Linked DNA regions of Homo sapiens: regions 2, 3 and 4 are each linked to region 1. The links are contacts of gene promoters, found by promoter capture Hi-C in human tissues and cell types (Jung and others, 2019). All regions are on one chromosome and are shown on one strand. Each heading gives the region's core, a stretch centred on a gene start or on the middle of the fragment in contact. The rest is flanking DNA. Distances are from core to core; before and after follow the strand shown.

The links. The method cuts DNA at HindIII sites, captures the fragments that hold promoters and counts their contacts. A contact is called where the count stands out against the background at its distance.
Region 2: a contact is called between a fragment that was not itself captured here and the fragment with the promoter of ZNF510 in region 1, in 3 of the 25 tissues and cell types used here (hippocampus, mesenchymal stem cells and spleen).
Region 3: the fragment with the promoter of TMOD1 here is called in contact with the fragment with the promoter of ZNF510 in region 1 in 1 of the 25 tissues and cell types used here (mesenchymal stem cells).
Region 4: a contact is called between a fragment that was not itself captured here and the fragment with the promoter of ZNF510 in region 1, in 1 of the 25 tissues and cell types used here (mesenchymal stem cells).

Annotation. Positions count from the first base shown.
Region 1 is chr9:96,776,638-96,781,174 of GRCh38, reverse strand. It overlaps ZNF510 (zinc finger protein 510), which reads left to right and starts at 3,088. Exons shown (of 6, transcript NM_014930.3): 1 at 3,088-3,141. RefSeq lists a silencer at 3,228-3,327. The HindIII fragment of the contact is 14,118 bases long and covers 1-4,537 here.
Region 2 is chr9:97,395,178-97,399,562 of GRCh38, reverse strand. LOC286359 (a long non-coding RNA gene) reads left to right here and starts at 2,872. Exons shown (of 6, transcript NR_026847.1): 1 at 2,872-3,066; 2 at 3,387-3,513. RefSeq lists a silencer at 81-268. The HindIII fragment of the contact is 3,966 bases long and covers 1-3,622 here.
Region 3 is chr9:97,499,075-97,503,259 of GRCh38, reverse strand. TMOD1 (tropomodulin 1) reads right to left here and starts at 1,594. Exons shown (of 10, transcript NM_003275.4): 1 at 1,457-1,594. RefSeq lists a silencer at 1,058-1,777. The HindIII fragment of the contact is 3,698 bases long and covers 472-4,169 here.
Region 4 is chr9:97,436,068-97,440,553 of GRCh38, reverse strand. It overlaps TDRD7 (tudor domain containing 7), which reads right to left. Exons shown (of 17, transcript NM_014290.3): 5 at 1,236-1,309. Among named protein-coding and RNA genes, the nearest start is that of TDRD7, 26 kb to the right of the region's middle. The HindIII fragment of the contact is 3,324 bases long and covers 1,416-4,486 here.

The sequences.
Region 1 (4,537 bases), core at 1,839-4,338:
GGCTCACTGCAACCTCCACCTCCTGGGTTCAAGCAATTCTCCTGCCTCAGCCTCCTGAGTAGCTGAGATTACAGGCACGTGCCACAATGCCCGGCTATTTTTTGTATTTTTAGTAGAGATGGGGTTTCACCATGTTGGCCAGGCTGGTCTTAAACTCTTGACCTCAAGTGATCTGCCTGCCTCAGCCTCGCAAAGTGCTGGGATTACAGGTGTGAACGACTCCACCCAAAGTACACCAATTTCACTCATTGAGAGACTCAATATTGTTAAGATGCCAGCTCTCCCAAATCTCAGCAATCTTTTTGTAGATGTCAACAGGCTGATTCTAAAATTTCCATGGAAAGGCAAAGAAACTAGAATAGCCAAAATAATTCTTAAAAAGAAAAAATTGGAGAATTTACATTATGAGATTTCAAGGCTTTCTATAAAATTAGAGTAATCCAAACAATATATCTGCAAAAGAATAGACAGACCAGGCAACACAAAGAAGAAAGGATTTTTTAAAGTGAATTGAAATTTTATTTTTATACAAAAACCTGCGTGTGAATCTTACATTACAGGGTTATTCATAATTGTCAAAAACTGGAAACCACCAGCTGCCCTTCAACAGGTGAATGAAGAAACACTACTAAATTAGTGAGTGATACTTTAAGAGAAACATGATGTTTTATAGCCTCAAAATATCTCACTGCAGGCCAGTCATGGTGGCTCGCGTCTGTAGTCCCAGCACTTTGAGAGGCAAAGGTGGGTGGATCGCCTGAGCCCAAGAGTTTGAGACCAACATGGACAAAAACAAAGAAAGAGAAAGAAAAAGGGAAAGGAAGGGAGGGAGGAAGGGAGGGAGGGAGGGAGGAAGGGAGGGAGGGAGGTCCAAAACTTAGCTACTTGGGAAGCTGAGGTGGGAGGATCACTTGAGCCTAGGAAGTCCAGGCTGCAATAAGCCGTGATCGCACCACTTCACTCCAGCCTCGGTGACATAGTGAGACCCGGTCTCAAAAACAAACAAACAAACCAAACCTCACTGCAAATATTTATCAGCTGCGGTGGTGCTGCATCTACACACACAGCGCCGAACTTGGAAGTTGGCGGAGAGCAGCTCTTTGGGCACCAGGCAAGGTCTCAGCCTTCAGACAGATGTGAAGGGCGAGACTTTCCTTGGAAAGGAATTAAAGGGTTTATCTTTTTAAAACACCTGTTTCTCTTAAAAACTTAAGAAATGTATAATTTAAAAATTTAAAACTTTGATATTATTAATTGCTTATTGTTGAATGAATCCTTGTGAAAATTATTGATTGTAATGTTAGTGCCATGGATATGTCCTTTGTCCCAGCACCTATCTCATTGTCCTAACAAGGTTACTGAAGGTTCTCTTTCCACTGCTTTAAAAGCCAGCTGATACATACTACATTCTTTCTTTTTCATATAGTTGAACTTTTACTGCACCAGGATAAATTTTTAAATATTTAGTGATAGTATACATAGTAAATATAGAGATATTGCTATGCATTTTCAATTCTTTTCTGATCATTACCATAAGTTTTTATTAGAATGAAAATTGGAATAGTTCCTTTAGGAAAACAGGCAAAATATATAAATGTCAAAAAAAGAAAATATATACTTAGAAAACATAGATGATTAGAATTTTTAAAAACAAATGTTAGTCTTTTCCTCCAGTATCTATTAAAGTGTTTTTCAGTGTCAACAGTAAAATTTTATACCTTGATTCATATATACTGCACTAGTTTACTGTTGCCATTAATCTTTTTTCTTGCTAATCAAAACTTATCATTGCCATATAAAATAACCTGTTAGAAAGTATCAACCGTGTGTGTGTGAGTGTATGTGTGTTACTAAAAAGAGTGTCATAAAATACTGTGCTGAGAGGTTCCTAATTTGGTTCCTGATTTCAGAAGCATACCACATAAGATTTAAGCAAGCTCATCTCTAGGAGATGCATAATTTGTGGATAACGGTTTTCTTAGTTGGGATTGTGTGTACTTCAGGTATTATGTAATGCTGAACAGCTTACTTGCTTTTTCTTTTTTTCCCCCCAGAGATAAACTGAGGATCACAAATATTATTCTTTTATGTTAATAATGGTTTCCATTTTCTAGTATTTGTTACATTTTACGGCTTTATTCACAAAGCTGTTTATGTATTTTTGTGGCAGCTCTAAGTTAAAAGGCACACTTGTAACATTACAGTCCCAATTTTCCCTTTATCAACTTTATATTATAAAATTTTCCAACACATAGTCAATAAGCATGTCCATATTCTAGAAGTAGATATTCTTAACATTTTGCCATACTTCCCATTTCTAATTATTTTTTAAAAAGAACTTACAAACGGGCCGGGAGTGGTAGCTCACGCCTGTATACCCAGCACTTTGGGAGGCCAAGGCAGGCGGATCACTTGAGGTGAGGAGTTCGAGACCAGCCTGGCCAACATGGTGAAACCCCGTCTCTACTAAAAATACAAAAATTAGCTGGGCGTAGTGGCGGGCGCCTGTAGTCCCAGCTACTTGGGAGGCTGAGGCAGGAGAATCGCTTGAACCCGGGAGGCGGAGGTTGCAGTTAGCCGAGATCGCGCCACTGCACTCCAGCCTGGGCGACAGAGTAAGACTCCGTCTCAAAAAAAAAAAAAAAAACCAAAAAACCCAAAAACTTACAAACATAATACAATCCTAAATACTTACATAGACATCTCTTTATGAATAAGCAAGATTACCTACATAATCCCAATGCTGCCACAATTAATTAATAATTCTAATTTCCAGTCCGTATACAAATTTTCCCAATTGTTTTCAAACGTCTTCCGCGGCTCTTGCTTTCTGTAACCACACGCTGCATTTGCTGTTATGTCATCAAGTCTAACCCACAACCTCTGGGGCTCTGACAGAACCCGGGCTCCAGTTATCAGGACGGTCCATGTTATTACGCCATAAATCTTGGGGGAAAAACAAACAAAAAAACACTGACAGCTGGCGCCGTACTGCATGTGAAACGTAGTCTTGCATGTTATGGGTTACCGCGCAGCATGCTGGGAACGGATATGCGCGTTTTCGTCTGCGCATGTGCAGTCAACCCCACTTTCCGGCTTCTCCCTGTTAGTGTTTGCTGGTGCAGAGGGTTCGCAGCTCAGGTGAGAGCGCCGGGCCTCCACGCGGATTGCGGACCTGCAGGGAGGGATGTGCTAGTGTCCAGGGGGCGGGAACGCGACGTCCCGGGAACTCCCCCAAAGCAGGCCGTCGCTCCCTGTGCCTCGGCCGGCCCGGGACCTCAGCCTGAGAAGGGCCGGTGGGGGCGGGCTCCGGGGGCGTTAGGTGGGGCTGAGTCCTAGTTGGAAGATGCTCGGTGCGGGCCGAGGTATGGGCGCCAGAATGCAGCCAGGCGTCGGAAAACGCGGTGCTGGCTTCAGGAGGGGAATGCGCGTTTATTGTATTGACCATGAACCTGCCACAAAGCGCGTACAGCCCGTGGGTCTGCGGTGAGAGGCCGAGCCTAGGAGCTAGAAGGACCTCGTGAATTTTGGCTCTGTCACTTGAGCGTTTGAAAATGAGGATATTAGTAAAAACTGCTTTGTGTCGTTCAGAGGTAAGCCATCCCCTGTAAAGCATTTAGCTAAGCGCTAGTTACTAAGCAGCATGTAAATGTTGATTCCCGTTATATTTGGAAGACACTTTGTTCTTTTCATGTAGTATTTCGTTTAATTCTCACAACCACCCTATTTATATCATTAAAAATGAAGAAGGAGGAGTGAAAAGATAGAGCCAAGCTCACAAAGGATGAGAGAGCTAGGATGTCAATACATAAACACTTTACTCCCCGAATCAGGCTGTTTGTAATGGCCTACCTACCTAACCCAGCATTGCAGCCTTCACAGCACTGAGTGATTGTCCCCAAAACCCCAGGACAATGATTGTGAAGTCAGTGTGGACAGAATCTTACTATGTGGCAAGTGTATTTGTTGTGGGGTTTCTGGGATGTCTCCAGAGCCTCTGGGTTAGACTGAGGCCCCTGCCACCTCCTGTGCTGTCCCTCCTGTCTCTGTCTTTAGAAGTCAGTCTGATATTCTAGGGCAGTGAAGATGAGTCACATACGTAATTTTAAATGTTAAACTAGTAGCTACATGAAAATCTAAAACATGAAATTAATTTTAAGAACATACTGTGGTTTTCTCAGTGTATCCAAAATGTTATTTCAACATGTGGTCCTAGCCACATTTCCAGTGCTCAGTAGTTGATGTGATTGGAGGCTGTAGTCATGGATAGCAGGGTTCTAATTAATGCCAAGAGAATCAGGTTTAAGGCCTTAGGTCACTTCTTCACCAGGAGGATTTTGCTCCCTAGGGAACTTTGGAAATGTTGGAGACTTTTTTGGTGGGGGGAGAGGGGACTGAGTTTCTCTCTGTCGCCCAGGCTGGAGGGCAGTGGTGTGATCTTGGCTCACTGCAACCTCCACCTCCCAGGTTCAACTGATTCTCCTGCCCCAGCCTCCCAGCTTGTAATCTCAGCTGGAATTACAAGCATGCATGGCCA
Region 2 (4,385 bases), core at 390-2,889, 620 kb before region 1:
GTAGGGGGAAGCATTGTCCTGGCCGAGATAAGGATGCTTGACGCCAAAGGAAGTGGAGGCAAAAAGGGGTCAAGGGAGGCTTCCGAGGTTCCTCACACTGCCCTTTGGAGCCTGCGGACCTGCTCCTTTGCCCCCTGGAGACCCCCAAAAAACCACTGCCTTGAGGTCAGCCAGCCGGAGTGTGTGACTTAAGTCGAGGCGCTCTGGCCTGGGGCTGCAGTGCTACGGCTGGCCACCAGGAGGCGGTCAGCCTCCTGTGTCCGCGGTGCCTACTCTGCTTTACCAGCAACTGGTGCCAGGGAAAAGTCACGCAGAGGTCACGCCTGCCGTCCTCCTTCCTCAGGTCTGACTCACACCTTTTATTTGCATTGATCATCTCCACAGTCTTAGCTGGTCAGAAGGTGGGGAGGTGGAAAGTCTGCGATCCTCCCATTTATTCATGCAGCAACTACGCCTGAGCACTCACCCTGTGCAGGTGCCCCAGTGGGCCCAGCATGCTGTGCTGAGATCAGCCAAGTGGTCCCTGCTCTCCAGGAGCTCACAGTCTGGAGGGGGAGATGGACAAAGGCATGTGAAAGAAAAGAGCAAGTGCTGTAGAGAAAATGAAGTCGAGTGCTGAGAGGTGGGCCTGGGAAGTCACTGGGTGGGCCTCAGAGGGGCCTTACTTTTATGCTGTGAGCAGAAGGACCAGAGGGAGCCAGCCCTGCACACATTTGGGAACAATGTGTCAAGGAGAAGGCACCACTGAAGCAGAGACTCCCAAACAGAGGTGGGTTTGGCAGAGGAGGTTAGAAAGAGCAAGTGTGTAGGCTGGGTGTGGTGGCTCATGCCTGTAATCCCAGCACTTTGGGAGGCCGAGGCAGGTGGATCACCTGAGTTCAGGAGTTTGAGGCCAGCCTGGCCAACATGGTGAAACCCCATTTCTACTAAAAGTACAAAAATTAGCCAGGTGTGGTAGTGTACACCTGTAATCCCAGCTACTTGGGAGGCTGAGGCAGGAGAATTGCTTAAACTTGGGAGGTGGAGGTTGCAGTGAGCTGAGATCGTGCCTCTGCACTCCAGCCTGGGCAACAGAGTGAGACTCTGTCTCAAAATAAATAAATAAATAAATAAGAAGAAGAAGAAAGAAGAGAAAGAGCCAGTGTGGCTTGGGGAGTGTGGCTTGGGGGAGCCCTGGAGGGAGGATGGGAGAGGAGGGAAATGATGGCAGGGCCAGATCCTGGGGCCTGGTAGACTAGGTGAGTTACCCATTCTTCTCACAACATTAGCAATGTGAAAGTACAAATATTTAATATCTCACAGTCTGTGGATCAGTAACCTGGGCATGGCTTACCTGGGTGCCTCTGCCTGAAGGTCTCCCATGAAGCTGGGACTGTGGTCTCAACCGAGGCTGGGCTGTGGGAAGAGCTGCTCCCAAGCTCACTCATGTAGGTATTGGCAGAACCAGTTTGGACTAAGCCTGAGTTCCTTTCTGTCTGTTGGCCTGGATGTTCCCCAGTTCTTTGCCATGTGGGCCTCTATGTCGGGTAGCTCCTGACATGAAAGCTTGCTTCCTCAGTTAGAGGACTGTGACAGAGGCAGCGAGAGGAGGAGGGACAGAGAAGGACAAGGAAAGGGAGGGAGAAACACAGGAGACAGCAAGTACGAGGGAATTGGTGCTTTTTTTGTAACTAAATATTGGAAGTTGCAATGGATTGAATGTTTACGTCCCCCAAAAGTCATGTGTTGTTAGCCAAATTCCCAATGTGATAATATTAGGAGGTGGGGACTTTGTGAGATAATTAGCTCATAAAGGTGGAGCCCTCATGAATGGGATTAGTGCCCTTTTCAAAGGGACCCCAGGGAGCTCCGTCACCCTTTTTCAACCATCTGAGGACACAACAAGAAGCTGGCAGTCTGCAACCCTGAAGAGGGACCTCGGCAAAACTGGACCATGCTGATACCCTGATTTCAGACTTCCAGCCTCCAGAACTGCAAGGAATACATTTCTGTTATTGGTGAGCCACCCTGTCTGTGGCACTTTCTTATAGCAGCCCTAACTGACTCAGACAGGAGAGACAACCCGTCACTTTGCTGTATACTCTTAGTCAGAAGGGGAGTCAGTAACCACTTTATGGTTAAACAAGGGCATGAATCCCAGCAGTGAGGTTCATTGCAAGCTGCTGTGCATGCATGCAGACTACCACATAGGCTGGGATGAGACACCTAGGTCTGATTCTAAATATAACAGGAAACCACTGGAAGGCTTTATGCCACAGGATGACCATATACCAGTTTCATTTTATGTTAACTCTCTCATGGTGCAGAATGAGAAATGAGGCCCAGAGTGGAAGTAACTTTTCCAATATTACACTGTTGGAACCCGGGCATGTCTTCAGTTTAAGTCCGTGCTGCATCCCATCTATCCTTATAATTCTTCCTTCTCTTGAGTTTGTGCATTTGTTACTTGTGACACCAACCTATGAGTGTTATGAGAATTATCTCATGTATGCCTGATGATGTCTCTGGGAAGCAGATGCTGGGATGATTTGCATTGTGCAGGTTAGGGGACTGGAGAGGCTCTGAGAGGTACAGTGAGTTTTCCAGGGCACAGAACTGGTAAGAAAAAGAAGGGTTGGAACCCAGCTGTATCTCCTCAAACCTAGGGCCCTCGCTGCATTTGGGTTTTCCCAGAGGGGGGATGTTGGCAAAATTGTGAACAGTTAAGGAGATGACATAGAGGAGGAGGGTGAGCAGTCAATGGCTCAGAGAGACCTTTGGGGAGGGAGCTCTTTGAAGGAAGGAGCCGAGGTAATGGAACCTTAGAGAAGTGACCTAACTTCCTTGGTGATAGGCCCCAACAGAACTTAGAACTTTGATAACCAGCACTCACATTCTAGAGACCCCCTGTCCAGCTCACTCGATGGGAGCCACTAGAGGGAATAAGATGTTCTCCTGCTGTATCCCGACTTTCTGAGGCTCTGACTCCAGGAAAGCCCGGCACGAGGGCCTTTTCCATTGCTGCAGGCTTTTTGGCTCAGCACTCACTTTTGGCACCTCTGGCCATTTGGCAGGAAGTACCCAAAGGTAACACAGAGAAGTCCGGGCCAGGCCACAACTGTGATCCCACCTGGGCAGCCCCACACCCCTCTCCATCGCCGTGTGTGTGGAGGGAGGCAGTGGAGGGAAGGCAAGGGATGAGCGTTGGGCCCTTCCTGGGCTGGAGCAGGTTGTTGGGTGTTGGAACCCTGGTGGGCCTGGCAAGATGGGAAGGTGAGTGCTGGGTGAAGGACATTTCCCCAGATGTTATCCTGTGCTCCTGAGACTTCAGCTCATTTCCTCTATGCAGTTGCCTACCTGTGCCTTATCTGGGGAGCAGAATTTCTAATGTGAGTTTCCCGCTGCGGTGATGGCCAGGCAGGGCCCTGATGTCTGATGATCTGGCTGCCGAGCATCATTTGTGCAGAGCTCCATGTGAGAGATCAGTGAGGAGCTGGTTGATGGGTTCAACTCCTCCATCTTCCTAGACAAGGGGTAGGTGCACCATGCCACCAATAATGACCAGCACTGGTCTGGAGTGAGAGCGGGCATGGGGGAGGGTGGTGGTGCTGGTGTCTCCACTGCCAGTATCACGAGATGAACAGCCCGGGTCCAGAACCCAGTTTTGTATACAAGGACTCCTGGGGTCTCTCAAGCAGGGCCTTCCCACTAGAGTGGCCCACAGTTCTACCCCGCAGAAATCTGGGCTGCCACTCCTCCTCCACCTGCAAATTGGTAAGGTGGAAAGACACTTCACACACTTGTAGGAATATCAGAGAAAAGACTTTTTCATTGTTTTCATATCACACCAGGCCATGAGCATTTTTGCATGTTGCTACTATTTTTGTTTTTTTAGCCACCTGCCCCAGATATCCCATGTAAGAATCAGCTCCCCTGCCCTTCCAGACCTGCTCCAAGCCTTAGAAATCATCAGGCTTAATAGGGTGGTTTATACACAAAAATGGAGGCGGTGGGGGTTGGTTCAGCTCTTCTTTATGTGTCTCTGCAACTTGTCATGTCCCAGAACACATCATCTTAGCCCACTAGGGCCAGAGCCTTGGCCTCACCTGTCTTCACAATATTCCAAAAGGAGGGCTTTTTTTTTTTTGCCACAGCAATTCCACCTTCCAATGCTGGTGGACCTGGATGTGATTCCATTCTGCTGCCATTTCAGCAGGGCTGCGGGGAACACCTTATGTGTGTCCTATTAGAGAGCACTGGCCTGCTAGGGCTGCCATAACAGTACCCAGATTGTGTGGCTTAAACAACAGAATTGGTTTTCTCACAATTCTGGGGCTAGAATTCTGAGACCAAGGTGTGGGCTGGGGCGGTTTCTTCTGAGGCCTCTCTCTGTGGCTTGCAGATGG
Region 3 (4,185 bases), core at 345-2,844, 720 kb before region 1:
TGAGCAGTGGGAAGGGTGCGGAAAGAGATGGGAAAGGCTGGGAGACTGCAGAACTTCTGGCGTGACCGGCCCTGTGTGACCTTGAGCAGGGGGCTCTGCGGCCCTGCACAGAGGACAAAATGGCAGTCACCTCTGGAAGAAAGATGGGGTGGGGGCCCTAGGGGTTCTCACGCTGAGGGCCCAGCACCTGGGTTCAGGGTCTGGTTCTGCGATTCAGACACGGAGGAGCTTGGGCCAGGTCGTCTCCGAGAGTCTGAGGGCATAGGGCGAGGGCTGGAGACAGGGTCTGTAATAGTAGCGGTGGGTGAAGGGTGTAGGAGGGGGCGGCGCTGCGCAGGTTGGAGGACGCATCATAGGCCCGATATAGACCGGGAAACTGTGGCCAGGGAGCGGCTGTACTGGAACCACTGCCCCTGCCCAGCTCATCGCATCTGAAGCTGCGTGGCTCACAGGCTGCTTTGCCGGCTACGGAGCAGAGAGATGCCCATAGGCACCCCAAAAGTGCACTTCCTAGGGTTGTACGGCTTAGGATATCCGACGGCCTTAGTGAGTCCCAGGATACGATCGAGTCTGGGGCAGTCAGTCTCCGATTTCTGCAGCGTCTCCGCATGTGCGCGGCTGGGACCCCAGCGTCCCAGGCCCGGAGAGGGTGAACAGGTGTGGGGAGCGCAGGCGGCCAAGAGCGCGCCCTGCAGCTCTCAGGGCTTGGGCTCCCAGCTCCATCGCGGCTACCAAACCTCGCCCCTACAAATGGGAGACTGAGATCCAGAAACAAGAGGGGGATTGCCAAGGCCATGCCGAGAGCCGGCGACAACCTGGGGCTCCCGCCTCCAAGCTCTTTCCAGCTCCACTTGGCCGCGTAGCGCGTGTCGTGGTGCTTTAAACCTTGTCTCTCCCAGTTTGGGAAACTTCACCTGCCCCAAACACTCTCAGCGCGAACCTGGGATCCACGTCCAGTCGAGCCTTTACTCCCCCACTCCCACCCCCAGACTCTTGCAGGCGGAGAAGAGGCCGCGCCCCCGAGCCCAGCTCCGGCTGGCACCTGTACCCAGCTGAGCACCCCGCGGGCTCAGAGCCCCGCCGCGCTGGAGTCCTGCGGGTGGCGGGGGCGCCCCTCCGCCAGGACCCCAGCCCGGGGCGCCGTCTCCTCCAGAACCCCGGGTCCTTCTCGCGTTCACAGACGCGGTGCGGAGGTCCAGAGCGGAGGGCGCCCTGGCCAGGGCTGCGCGCGCGGGGAGGCGGGGACGGGAGCGCTGGGCTCGGAACCCCGAGACCCGGGCTCCCTAGCCCCAGAGGCAACCCGAGGCGGCAGCTATTTATAGAGGGAGCCACGCTCAGTCCCTCTTGGCGGCGGCGGCGACAGCTGAATATTTTGCCCAGATATGGCTGAGGCCCCGGAGCGGGGGCAGGGAGCCCCGCGAGCGCGAGGGGGACCCCAGGCGGGGTGGGGGCTTACCCGGACGCAGAGCTGTGGGGCCGGCGCGGACGCGGGCTGCGGAACAGGCGCGGGCGGCGGGCAGATGGACGCGGGCGGAGGCCGCGGTGCTCCGGCGGGCAGCGGGCGGGCGAGCGCAGCGCGGGGCTGGACGAGCTCCCGGGCGGCCGCGGGCGGGCGGGAGCTGTGGGCTCGGGGGTGGGAGCCAGGGGCGGGCCCGGCTCGGCTGTCACCGCGCCCCGCCCCGCCCGCCGCCGGCTCCCTCCTTCCCCCCCCCTCCACTCGGGGGCGCCCGGGCGCAGCGCACTTCCCCGTCGGGACGCGGCCCTGGGCCGGGAGCGCAGGGGAGTCGGGCTGCAGCCGAGCGAGCGCGGGCCCCTGCCTGGGTCTCCTCCGCTTCCCCGCTGGTACCAGGAAGAGTTTGAGCGACGGTAGAGTTATGTGGGAAAAGGTGGGCAGATTTGCATTCCTGTGGGGTTTAGAATTTAAGATTTTGAGAATCTGAAGTCCCCAGAAGTGATGGACCAAAGCCAGCTAAGCAGCTGCTGCACCTTCACCTCTGATTGAAGCGCCGCTCCGTCCGTTTCCCAGCAGCGCGGCCAGGTGGGCTCTGAGCCGCAAGCTTTAACCGCGATCGTTTTGTCTACACGTAGTTCCAACACGCAATCGAATACATTCTCTCTACACTGAGAGCGAGTGGAGTGTCTAAAATACTGATTTTAAATGACCACAACAAAAAGACCCAAGTTCTTAAAAGGCTTTTTTTTTTTTTTTTTTTTTTCAGAACAAACCACTTTAGGTGGTTTATTCCAAATACAATTTTAAGTGTTTTAATAAACAAATGTCTCATGCAAAGGAATTTATATAGAAATAGGAAAACGTCTTATTTTGGATTATTATGGGAAAGCTTTTGGTAGGGTAGACCTTAATAAAATCAGCTCTTAATCCTGATGTATAGATTATTAATGAGAAACACTCATTAACCAAATTTTGTTTCTCAAGAAAATGAATTTCTCTAAAGTCCTCACAATGAGAACGCTCTTTTCAAGGGGTATATGCCATACATTTAAAAATAAGCAGTGATCTAATATTTCAGATTATTTTAAAACATTTTTGTTGTGAATCGAACATATAAGAACATACAACATAAGTTATGTTGTATGTGTAAACAAAATAAATGTGCAGCTTCATGACTTTTTACAACGTGAACACCTGTGCAACCAGTCACTCAGAGAACATTGCCTACAGCCCAGAAGCCAACCTGTCCCTCCTGGGTCCCAACTCCCTTCTAAAGATGATCACTTTCTTGACCCTTACGGTGATCATGTCCTTGTTTTTTTTCTTCCCTCTGTAGTATGTCTTCATTTGTTCAAATCTGTTGTTAATCTGTGGTTTTATGCAGCTGTAGTTTTTCACTGTATGAATATGCCACAGTTTAAAAAAAAATCCATTTGACTATTAATGGGCATTTAGGTTGTTTCCAGGTTTTAGCTATTACAAATAGTGCTGCTGCGAACATTCCTTGCCAGAATCCTCCTGTCCACGCGCACAGCCTGCTGTTGGAAGTGCTGGGTGATAGAGAAAGCCTAACCTCAACTTCGGCAGAGATAAGCCTGAACTCTTCCAAAGTTATAGTACCATTGTACAGTGCAGTTTCCCATCTTCAACAACACTTGAAGTTACAAAAATTGAAACACTTTAGAAATTCTGATATGTGAGTAATGGTATCTCATTGAGGTTCAAACTTGCATTTCCCTATATCCTAATGTGTTGAGTATCACTTCATATTTATTGGCCAGTTGGATTTGTTTTGTGAATTGTTCAGATTTATTGTCCATTTTTCTTCTGGATAGTCCTGTGTATTGAATAGATTCAATGGTGTGTGTATCCTCAGTTATATTCCACTCTTTTGCCTTTTCACCTTATTAACGTATTTTGATAAACAGGTGTTCTTAAATACAGTCTGGCAATCTTTTCCCTTATTGGCAGCACTCTGTGTCCTGTTTAAGAACTCTTTCCTGTTCCTGGGTTATAAAGTTATCTTCCTATGTTATCTTCCCACCTTAGCCTTTCATGTTTAGGTTTTTTGTTTGTTTGTTTTTGTTTTTGTTTTTGAGATAGAGTCTTGCGCTTTGTTGGCCAGGCTGGAGTAAAGTGGTGTGATCACGGCTCATTGCAGCCTCAACCTCCTGGGCTCAAGCCAACCCCTTAACCCCCACATCAGCCCCTCAAAGTGCTGGGATTACAGGCATGAGCCACCATGCCCAGCTATTTAAAAAAATGTTTTTTGTAGAGATAGGGGACTTGCTATATTGCCCAGGCTGGTCTGAAACTCCTATGCTCAAGCAATCCTCCCGCCTCAGCCTCCCAAAGTGCTGGTATTACAGGCGCGAGCCACTGTGCCCAGCCTCATGTTTAGTTTTTTGTTTTTTTTTTTTGTTTGTTTGTTTTTTTTTTTTGAGACAGGGTCTCTGTCATCCAGGCTGGAGTGCAGTGGCGCGATCTCGGCTCACTACAACCTCTGCCTCCCAGGCTCAGGTGATCCTCCCACCTCAGCCTCCTGAATAGCTAGAACTACAGTTGTGCACCACCACATCCAGCTAATTTTTTGGTAAAGACAGGGTTTTGCCACGTTGCCCAGGCTGGTCTCAAACTCCTGGCCTTAAGTGATCCGCCCACCTCAAAGTGCTGGGATTACAGGCATGAGCCACCATGCCCGGCCAATGTTTAGGTTTTCAATCCATCTGGAA
Region 4 (4,486 bases), core at 1,828-4,327, 660 kb before region 1:
AGGATATCCACATATATTTCCTATTAAGGGTATAGCTAATTTATTTAAGTTCTTCCCAAATAATGATATAAAAGGACTGGGAAGGAGGAAAAGATTAAGTTTCTCATAACTGGCCAGACCTTCCCATAATGAGAATGTGTCAGCAGCTGACCGACAGCTGTGTCTGCAAATGCACTTGCTCTGTGGGGCCACTGGGGCCATCTAAGTCCCTGCACCTTTTGTTAAACAAATTAAAGTAGTAATGGAGGTGTCCATCATGTAGGAGAGGTTGTGTACACATGTGTGCCTATCAGCTCTGCCAGGTGAACTGCAATCCTCCTGAAATAAGTCCTCTTGTTTCTGTAGAAGTAGTTTATACTAATTTAAGCTTCTAAAAGGATATTCAACTTTGCCATGTAGTCATGTTTCAGAAAATGCCTATGTAAAAGTAATTCATGTAAACAAAAATCATATTGTTCAATTAATTTCCATTAAGAAATACTGGAGATGTGTTCTTATAAAAAAAAAAGCATTTCAACTAAGTAAGAATCACACTTAAAGCAGCAAATAATGTAAAATCACATTTACATTTCACACACTATAAGCACTGATACGAAAACACTGTCTCCCTGGGTGGGTCTATGAGCAGGGGATTTACACATTGGTTGGAGAAGAAAAGATAACAAGTGGTTGCATTTCTAACCTTCAGATTCTTTGACTTATACTATGTCTCCTATTGTTTTCCTAACAGCCCACTTGGATTCTATTACCCAAAGAATTATTTATATTCATATTTAGATGATTAGTGGTAACTGTACACAGTTTAGGGTGCTAGCTTTTAAGTGGTGGAGTATCTGAAACTCTTTTATAAATTTAAGTCCCATATTTATGCACTTTTAATCCACAGCAGATGTTTCCTTTATGTGAGGCCTCAGCCTCTGAAGTCTCAGGGGTGCACCCCCTAAGAGGTGAGAGAGTAAGGGACACAAGCATCTCTGCAGGCCACACATAGAGGTGACACAGAGTAGGGCTGGGGTGAGGAAGGCCTCAAGTCAGTGTTTAGATAATGATATCTTTGGGAGGCACCATTTTCTCTTAAGATCACTTTGATTCATGATGCAAAGCAATTAGGAAAAAGGGGAGGAAGGATATATTCCAAACAGGAGAAGGTGAGAGCAAATGTCAAAAGCCACCACCAGATATGTTTCTTGACTCCGGAAGCCAATATGTATCTCAAAAATGTTTGGAAAACATACCACTCATTTCCTTAGTAGAGGTTCTTGAGAGATGCATCTGCAAAGGTGGTTGAAGGGACGCCTTTGGGCTAAACCTAAGATATTAAAAAAAAAAAAAGTAAAATAAATGTAAATAACAAAGTCTATACCAAGTTTTAAACACTACACTTTTCATTTAAAGTCTCAGTGGCATTTAACAGCAAAACAAGTCATTAAAATAATTTAAAATCAGAAAAAATAAAAATAAAACCTGGCATCATCTTTCATGTTTCATATTCACTCAGAGAAAAGTATGTTAAAAGCTAAATTTAAACTAGGTCTTTGAAAGCCTCTTTCAAAACTTGGATGTCAGAATTCCAATTAATCACTTATAAGAAACTGGTAAAACAGAATAAAGAAGACCATGCAAAAATAAACAGTTGGAAACAAAGAACATTTTGGAATATAACCAAAAAATGAAGGACTTGCATCACCAGATGTTGAAATGCATTATGAAGTTACAACACTTAAATGAGTTGTACAGACAGGTAAAATGGTAGAGAACTTAGAAACATGCAATTTGCATTATATCTTGGTACATAATGAAAGTGGCATTTCAAAACAGACAGGTGAGGGACTGGTCAAATAACTATTTGAAAAAAAGAAATAGATCCCTACCTCATACCCTCACTAAAAATAAATTTTATATAAATTATACTGGATATATGTAGGAAGATTTTTCCAAATATGAAGACACATAAATAAACCCCACACACATCATTTATATTCATGTCTGTTTCCCACACTAGACTCTAAGTGTCTTAATTGTTTGTGTTCCCAAGTGCCTGGGGCAGAGCTTGATACATGCAAGGCAAATGAATATTGTAAGAATGACTGAATGAATCATGACCGAATGAATAAATGACTACAACCTGCCCAGCAGTGGGTACGGGACTATAGTGAGTGATAGTGACATGGTACACATAGCTGCCAGTTTTTGAATAGTATGGAACAGTCTAAAAATTAGATCAATTCCTTGAAATGAAGCACATTTTCTTATAAAATTTTAATTCTAAAAGAAATGATTAGGTTCTAGGCTACCAATAAAAACTTATTTGGTATATGCAATTATAAGATCATCCTATTTCTATATTAATATATCTGTGTAATAGCAGAAGATGCCAAAAATATATCCAACTCCTATTTTGCAGAACTGGTAGGGAGATAGTACTCCTTCCCGCACACCAGCCCAAAACATGTAAACTGGAAGCTTCCCCTGCTTTAAACAAGCATCGAAGGCTCCAGTAGAAGGTAGAGGGATATGAGCAAAGAGTGAGTACACAGAAACTATGGAAGGGACTGTTATGGTTCAGTCATCAAGAGGTCTACTGGAGAGGAAAGAAAAAAGTGTATATAGCAAAAGAAAGCTCTTCAAAGAAAACTGCTAGGATGCATGAAAAACAGACATAATAAAATAAGATGACAGAGGTCTAAGCAGTTTTATAACACTAAGAATAAAATATATTGTCTCTTAAAAGACAAAGAGTTAGACTGGTCCAGAAAAAAACCTTCCAAATCTAAACATATGTTGTTTATTAGAGACATATTTATAGCTCATAAATATTTAAGACATACTATGTGCCAGACATTATGTCAGACAGTAACTGTCAATGATCAGCAAGATAAACATGCCCTATTCTCTGGGACTACACGGTATAGTTGAGAAACGGACCGTGGTAAGTAGCTGCTGAGATAACCCCAAAGATTCTTCCCTCCAGGTATTCACAGCCTTGTGTAATCCCTTCCCCTTGAGTAACCTGCTTCTAATCAATAGAAGACTTCAAGGCTGAAGGGATCACAAATAACTAGATTACAGAAGATTCTAATTTCAACTTTGCTAGTATAATCTCTCCTTTGTTGCTTTGATGAAGCAAATGGCCATGTTGGGAAGAACCATGTGGCAAGAAACTGAAGATGGCCTTTGGCCAATAGCCACCTAGGGACTAATGAACAACTCAGAAGGAAGTACACTGTGCCAATAACCATGTGAGTAGGACTGAAAGCAGATTTATCTTTAACTGAGCCTTCAGATAAGATCCCAGCCATGGCTGACACCTTGACAGCAGCCTCATGAGAGACCCTGAAGCAGAGGACCCAGCTTGACCGTGTCTTCCTTCCTGACCCACAGAAACTATGAGGTAAGAAAATGTGTCTTGTTGTAAGCTAATAACTTTGGGGTAATCTGTAACACAGCAATAGATAATTAATGCATTGACAAAATCTAAGAACAAAGTCTACTAAGTGTTATGATAAGGGCAGTAGGTATAATAAAAGCACACAATGGAACTAATAAACCAAATTAGGAGATAGAGGAGGAAGTAGAGAGTAAAGGTTATTAGCACTTATTATGAAGTTATAATAATGTGAATAGCCTGGTACTGCAGAATAGGGAGGTAATCAATTATTCTGAATGGAAAGCCCAGGAACTGAACCATATGTTTATAAGGCTTTAGTACTGGTAAAGATAGAATTACAAACCAGCAGAGAAAGAAAGGATTGTGTAATGACTGATACAGGACATCTGGCTAACAATAAAAAAGGATTCCAACTCTCACACTATAAAATAAAATAAATTCTGGATGAATTAAAGACTAAAATGTAAAAAATGAAGCCACAACAATTACAAAAGAAAACAGAAGACATATTACATAATATTGAGTGGAAATGCTTTTCTAAACATAATACCTAAAAGCAGAAGTCACATAGTAAAAGATCGATAGCTATAAGCATGCAACATTTTAAAGTTTTTGTATACAAAAAATACAATAATTAAACAAACTGAGGGAATACTGTCAAGATATTACAAAGGGCCAACTTATTTAATTTATAAACCACTTTTATATGTTAGAAGGAAAAGAGCCAATAGAAAAATTATGTAAAGGACAAAGACATGTAATTCACATAAGACCTATAATGGGCTAAAAAATATATGACAAAAATGTAACTCCCTTAAGAATCAAAATCAGGGAAATAAAAATTAAAACATAAATAGATTTTTTTCACTTTTCAAAGTAGCAAAGCAAAAAACAGATGCCCAATATTGGCAGGCATACAAGAAAATAATCACTCTCATATTCTTCTAGAAGAAAACAAATTATTATAATCTGTTTAGAGAACAATTTAATAGGAGCCTTAGTACATATACCCTCTTCCCCACACATTTTATCTCTACTAATTTATTCTACAGGAAACTAGCCATGCCATTTTTCTAGAACTTTTCAATTTGTTAACAG